2 separate regions of the Homo sapiens genome follow, and region 1 is linked to region 2. The links are contacts of gene promoters, found by promoter capture Hi-C in human tissues and cell types (Jung and others, 2019). All regions are on one chromosome and are shown on one strand. The core of a region is centred on a gene start or on the middle of the fragment in contact, and the rest is flanking DNA. Distances in the headings are between cores, read along the strand shown.

What was found. Contacts are between HindIII fragments. The study calls those that stand out against the background at their distance.
Region 1: a contact is called between a fragment that was not itself captured here and the fragment with the promoter of CRISPLD2 in region 2, in 7 of the 25 tissues and cell types used here (IMR-90 fibroblasts, bladder, mesenchymal stem cells and 4 more).

The regions. Positions count from the first base shown.
Region 1 is chr16:84,780,066-84,783,587 of GRCh38, reverse strand. It overlaps a transcript of LOC105371378 not described here. Among named protein-coding and RNA genes, the nearest start is that of CRISPLD2, 38 kb to the left of the region's middle. The HindIII fragment of the contact is 6,097 bases long and covers 1-3,522 here.
Region 2 is chr16:84,817,873-84,821,308 of GRCh38, reverse strand. It overlaps CRISPLD2 (cysteine rich secretory protein LCCL domain containing 2), which reads right to left and starts at 1,324. Exons shown (of 15, transcript NM_031476.4): 1 at 1,176-1,324. RefSeq lists a silencer at 1,362-1,551. The HindIII fragment of the contact is 19,202 bases long and covers 1-3,436 here.

The sequences.
Region 1 (3,522 bases), core at 244-2,743, 38 kb after region 2:
AGTCTGGCCAACATGGCGAAACCCCGTCTCTACCAAAAATACAAAAATTATCTGGTGTGGTGGCAGGTGCCTATAATCCCAGCTACTCGAGAGGCTGAGGTAGGAGAGTCACTTGAACCCAGGAGGTGAAGGTTGCAATGAGTTGAGATTATGCCATTGCATTCCAGCCTGGACAACAAGAGCAAGACTGTCTCAGAAAACAAACAAACAAACGAACAAACAAAAAACAATAAAGGAAACACAAAACACTTCGTGTAGAGTTGGCTATTACCACTTGGCCTTGCTAGACACGGATTTTAAAAACACTAACATTTTGGTCTAATCTCTTTTAAGTCCACTGACCCTCAGGAAATTGGTATAGAGATACTGTCTTCACTAGGCTCAGTCAAGATATTTTTCCTTCTTGAGCCAGAGAAGTACCAGAAAAACTGTGAGTCTTCTGTCTCTTGCTGTTTTTAGTTCTTTTGATGCACTCAGCACTTCCCAAGAGAAATGAAGCCAAGAGACTGCTGTGTCCACACTGCTACAACTTGCTCATTCTCATTGACTCATGAACGTGAGTTGGCTGTACAATACTAGCTCACTGGTTTATTGGGTTATTTCCCATAGTTCAAAAGCCACTGACTTGGACTATGCTTGTCACTTTGTAACCAGTTGGCCTGGTCAAGTATAAGCAGTCTATGACAGCAATAATCAGAAACGTCACCAAATAAAAGACATTCTAAGATGATGCCTTTGCTGACTGCAAAGTTCCTGCTCACGTTGCCCACACATTAGACTAGGATGGTATGACCAATGACATCAAGCAATGAAAGCAGGGGCTGGGCACGGTGCCTCACGCCTGTAATCCCAGCATGTTGGGAGGCCGAGGCAGCTGGATCACCTGAGGTCAGGAGTTCGAGACAAGCTTGACCAACATGGTGAAACCTCGTCTCTACTAAAAATACAAAATTAGCCGGGTGTGGTGGCACATGCAGAACAATCGCTTGAACCTGGGTGGTGGAGGTTGCGGTGACCTGAGATCGCACCGCTGCACTCCAGCCTGGGCAACGAGGGCAAAACTCCATCTCAAAAAAAAAAAAAAAAAAAAGAGAGAGAGAGAGAAATGAAAGCAGAATGCCACTGTGAGCCACTTGGGTGGCTGAACCATAGTTACACCAGTGGAGGCCAGAATGACCTCCATTCTCCATCCTGCCTCAAACACACAGTGGCTTGCGCTTCCTTGGCTAGTGGACAAATAACATACCAACCAGGTAAACTTCATGACATCTTCCCTGTAAGAGAACTTCCAAGTCTTGTTGTCAACAACTGACAAATGCGAGGAAAATCTCCCTATAACATACTAAAAATGTAACCATTCACTGCTTTAAATGCCACCTACAAAGGCATGTTAAATGATAATGAAGGAAAATCACTAAGTCTGTAGCCTCAGCACCAAGGTTAATGAGCAAAGTTCCCGAAGTAAATAACCTAAAGTTAGGAGACCGTACTATGAAACTTACAAAAACATTAAACGTTGCAACATAAAATGGAAACGTTGTGCGTTAGGGTTCTCTAGAGGGACAGAACCTATAGGTAGATGTATATATAAAGGGGAGTTTATTAAGGAGTATTGACTTACAAGAAGGGGTCCCACAGTAGGCCGTCTGCAGGCTGAGGAGCAAGGAAGCTAATCCAAGTCCCAAAACGGAAGAACTTGGAGTCCGATGTTCAAGGGCAGGAAGCATCCAGCACAGGAGAAAGATGGAGGCCACAAGACTAGTCTAGTCTTTCCACATTCTCCTGCCTGCTTTTATTCCGGCCACGCTGGCAGCTGATTAGATGGTGCCCACCCAGATTGAGGGTGGGTCTGCCTTTCCCAGCCCACTGACACAAATGTTAATCTCCTTTGGCAACACCCTCACAGACACACCCAGAAACAATACTTTGCATCCTTCAATCCAATCAAGTTGACACTCCGTATTAACCATCGCAAGTTGAGTGCAAAATCTCAAGAACAGCTAACAGGGACAGACCCAAAATTCACTGGCACCCTAGAAAATGTCTGGATTTGCTAGAATCACCTAATTCTGTATCCCTGGGCCAATTATTCACTTGAGGGACCATATTCTGCCCTGCTCTGGGCTTCCCTGTCTGTGGCTGGGTGTGTGCTGATCCTGCCTGAGCAAAACAAAACTTGGGCAGCCACACGTTCATCACGAATACAGCCTCAGGAGTCAGGCGGCATGAGGTTATGGGCTCCGTTTGTGTCGCCCCCAGTATTCATCTTTGAAGCCTGAACCCCCGGCGGAATACTAGGAAGTGGGGCCTTTTAGGTATAGATGAAATCACAAAGGTGGAGGCCCACAGTGGGATGAGTGTCCTTGTAAGAGAAACAGACCAGGGTTCACTCTGCCCTGTGAAGACATAGTGAGCAAGCGGCTGTCTCCAGGCCAAGAAGCAGGCCTTCCCCAGACAGGTCTGCTGGCATCTGCTCTTGGACTTCTAGCCTCTAGAACTGTGAGAAATAAATGTTTGTTGTCTAAGCCACTCAGACTATGGTTAACAGCCCAAAACAACACAGGGGTTTTGCAGGCTGTCTCGCTAGCACTAGCTTGCATCTTTCTATGAGCAGCAGCAAGATTTATTGTGAAGAGCAAAAGAACAAAGCTTCCAGTGTGGAAGGGGACCCAAACGGGTTGCCACTGCTGGCTGGGGCGGCCAGCTTTTATTCCCTTATTTGTCCCCTCCCATGTTCTGTTTTTGTCCTATCAGAGTGCTCTTTTTTCAGTCCTCCCTGTGATTGGCTGCTTTTAGACTCCTGCTGATTGGTGCGTTTTAAGAACCGATTGGTGCATTTTACAAACCTCTTGCTAGCTACAGAGTGCTGGTTGGTGCGTTTTACAATCCTAGCTACAAAGTGCTGATTGGTGCATTTTACCATCCTCTTAGAGGACAGAAAAGTTCTCCAAGTCCCCACTTGACCCAGGAAGTCCAGCTGGCTTCACCTCTCAATATGAGTTATAATTCAGCCAAGCAAATCACAATAGAATTACAAAGGGTAAGTAGGTTAGACGGACAACACTTGTACAGAAAGTTTAGGAAGCTCTGAACCCCAGATGGCACCAGGCTACAATCAGAAATACCAGATGGTAAGAGCAAGAACTTGAGAGAAAGGCTCAGACCACGTTAAAACCCCTTCTCTGTAGATCTCAGGACACCACAATCATCCACACAGGGCCAGAAGCCGGGGCACGGGCACCCTTGCACGTGACATCCCTCTCTCCATGTCTTCCGTCTCAGAAGGCTTCCTTCCCACTACTGAGGGTGGCGTCTGGAGGCACCGCTCAGCCGCCCCAGTGGCACTCAACTGAAGAGCATTTAGCCTTGACCTACAGCAACTATTTTGGTGATACTGAAAACGGTGGGCTATAGAAACAAGGGATGAGGAGGGGAAGGGGAGAAAACCTCCTCCTTTCTGCCAATCGAAGAGTCAAAAACTTCGTGTACCCAAATCACTAATCCATTTGAAAATACTAAACA
Region 2 (3,436 bases), core at 75-2,574:
GCATACAACCCAAGGAGCCCTGGGACAGCCGACAGTCACAACTCATGGCCTCAGTCTACTGGAAAGGACCACGCCCCGGTCCTGTTCTGCAGGCTCTCCTCACTGTCAGACATCAGACCCTGGATGGGGAAAGCAGGCTCACCCCATTCTACCAGGGCAAGAGGTCCAAAGGCCCAAAGGGGAAACTCACAACCCCACTCTCGGTTGCAAGGCAAGCTAGGCATTTGCACGGGATGCTTCTCTCAGCCAGGGCAGCAACTCACATTTTGGCTGAGAGACGCCCAATTCAAGTTGGACTGCGATGAGCAGGCATCAGCGAAGTCCTCCCTGGCTTGTCCACCAGCCCAGCCTTAGCAAGGGAGGCTCTGGGTCTGCAGCACATGAGGGACTAGCCCTGGCTCTGTCCACGTGGGACGACCGATCTCCCCCACACTCCAGAGTGAGCCCTCCGCTTCCAGGGTAACTCTCCCCACGCAGGAGTTATGCAGGTGCCCGCTCTGGCTAAAGAAACCCAGAAACGTGTTCCCCCAGACTGCAGAACCCTGACATGGCCCCAAGTCTCTACACATCCATTTGAAGCTCTGGAGACAGACAGAGCTGGGTTCCAGCCCTGGCTCTGCCCGGACAACTTACTTCACCTCTCTGACCCTCAGCATCTTCATCTGAAATGTGGGAAGAAGGCTACCTTGCAAATGAAATCACAGAGGGGCGTGGCCCTCTAAACTGCAGCTGAATGCACATGCCACTAGATCACCCTGGTCCTCCAGACATGAGTAGGACACATTCTAATGCCTGCCATATCCATGCCATCAGCTTTCCAGTTATTGACACCCACTACGAACACAGGAATGCAACAAATGCTAGTGAACTGCACGAGGAAGGCAAGAGAGTAAACAGCCTCTAAGGAGCAGGATTCTGCGCTCAGATCGGCGTTGAATCCTGGGTCCTTGGAGTCCTGGCTGCGAGGTCCTGGACAAATGAGTTGTCCTCGCTGAGCCTCAGTTTCTCCATCTGCAAAAGGGCATGTCGCAAAGCTGTGTTCCGCTATGCAAGCAGAGCACTCGGTGTGGTGCCAGCACACAGTCAGCCCTGCGAGGTGGCATCTGTCCTAGTTATTCCAGCTTCTCGGGGGGGTAACAGTTTGCAAAAGGGAGAAGCATGGAAATCACACTTACCTCCGCAGGGCTCCAATCACCAGCTCGCTGGCGTCTCCCGCGTCCAGCAGACGCGGTAGCAGCGGCGACAGCGCGGGCACAGCAGGCACAGCGGGCACAGCGAGCAGACAGCTCAATAGGAGCAGCCGGAGACGCCCTGGGATGCGAGTGGGTGCCGGGGCTCAGCGTACCGCCTCTTGTAGGCTCCCCGGAGCCCGGAGGCCACGCCCCCAGATCGCTGGCGGCGCTGGTAGGACCGAGCATCACCGGCCCCGCCCCCGGCCCCGCCCCGCAGGCTCAGCGGGCTGAAGGAGGCGGGGGGCAGCTGAGGCGCGGGCGCCGGGTGGGCGAGGAAGGCGGGGCCGCTGGCCTCCAGGGCCGGCTAGGGACAAGGAGACGCTCAGCTCCCTCGCCACTGGCCACACAAGCATAGTTTTCATTGAGCGCTTACTATGCGCCTGGCGCGGTGCCAAGCGCTTCCCACAAGGGGCTTGCAAATTTACCAAACCCCAGCTCTCTGCAGCTCAACTGGAAAATAGGAATAAGGAGGCGACCTCCCAGGATTTTAGCAAATGAAATCCGCAAGGGCTGGGCGCTGTGAACTGTGGCGCGGTGCAGAGTACACAGTTACTGAGGTGACTCCCACCCTCTACACGTGCTCAGAAAACTTAGGCCCCCTCTTCCCAATTTGCAGACGAAGAAAGGGAGACTTGTTTCCGGATGGGGCCGCTAGCGCGGGGATCCAGGCTCCGCACTTTACCTTCAACGACCCTAGGACGCGTTCCCAGGAATCCAGGGAGGTGGAAATCACCTCATTTCACAGATCCAGTAGCTGAGGCTTGGAGAAGAGCGTGCCCCAAGTCCCGTAGCTAGGAGCAGTGCAGCATGTTCATATCTCTTTTGCCCGGAGGCATTTAGCATTTTTAACCTGTGCAGGTACATACGGAAATCAATTTAGAGCCAGACGAAATCACCTTTGAAACAGGTAAATCCACGTTCCTTAAGAGCTAAGGGACTGCCCCGTGCTCCCGCCTCAGTCACAAAATGTGGACGGGTATGCAGGCACTGCGCGGTAAGGTGCTGGGGCCCAAGGGCAGGAGGGGGCCTGTCCGCACTGCTCATCTCCGCACCAAGACACCGGAATTAGCTCCTCCAGCATTAACTCATTCCCCAAATACCCATCGAGTCGCTCTGTGCCGGGCCCTGTGCTATACAGCAGGCACAAACAAGACACCTCCGGGATCTCAGAGTCTGGGGCCCCCACGAGCTAGGGCACGTGGGAGAAACAAGGATGGGGAATGGGTGGAACAAGGACTATGGAAGGCTGCCTGCGTGACGTGGACTCAAACAGGGAAGGCTTGCCTAAGATTTTGGTGCGGCTCAAATGCAGATACAGAATAATGCAGACTGGCCGGGCGCGGTGGCTCACACCTGTAATCCCAGCACTGTGGGAGTTTGAGGCGGGCGGATCACCTGAGATCAGGAGTTCGAAACCATCCCGGCCAACATGGTGACACTGTCTCTACTAAAAATACAAAAATTAGCCGGGCATGGTGGTGCATGCCTGTAGTCCCAGCTACTTGGGAGGCTGAGGCAGGAGAATCGCTCGAACCTGAGAGGCAGAGGTTGCAGTGAGCTGAGATGGCGCCATTGCACTCTAGCCTAGGAGACAAGAACAAAACTCCATCTCAAAAAGATAATAATAATGCAGATGTTTTCTGTTATCTTTTTTTCCTCTTTTTGTTTTACTTTTCTCAGTCTTTGAAGCATCATTCTTCAGAGGCACTCAACTGGCATGCAGTCATCCAATAATTAAGCACCTACTATGTGCTGGGCTCTGTTTCAAGCACTGGAGGGCTCAGTAGTGAATAAGACTGTTCCAGAACAACAGTCCTTGGATTGACAAAAGACAAATCCAAGGGGAGAAGAGATCTGTGTTAGCAGATGCCTTTGGAGGCCTGGCACGATGGCTCAGGCCTGTAATCCCAGCACTTTGGGAGGCCCAGGCAGGTGGCTTGAGTTCAGGACCAGCCTGCAACATGATGAAATCCAGTTGCTACAAAAAGTAGCCAGCATGGTGGCATATGCCTGTGGTTCCAGCCACTCAGGAGGCTGAGGTGGGAGGATTGCCTGAGCCTGGGAGGTGGAGGTTGCAGTGAGCTGAAATCGAGCCACTGCATCCCAGCCTGGGTGACAGAGCAAGACCCTATTTCAAAACAAAACCAACCAACCAAACAAACAAACAACAACAAAACAGATGCCTCTGAGTACCTGACCCCAAA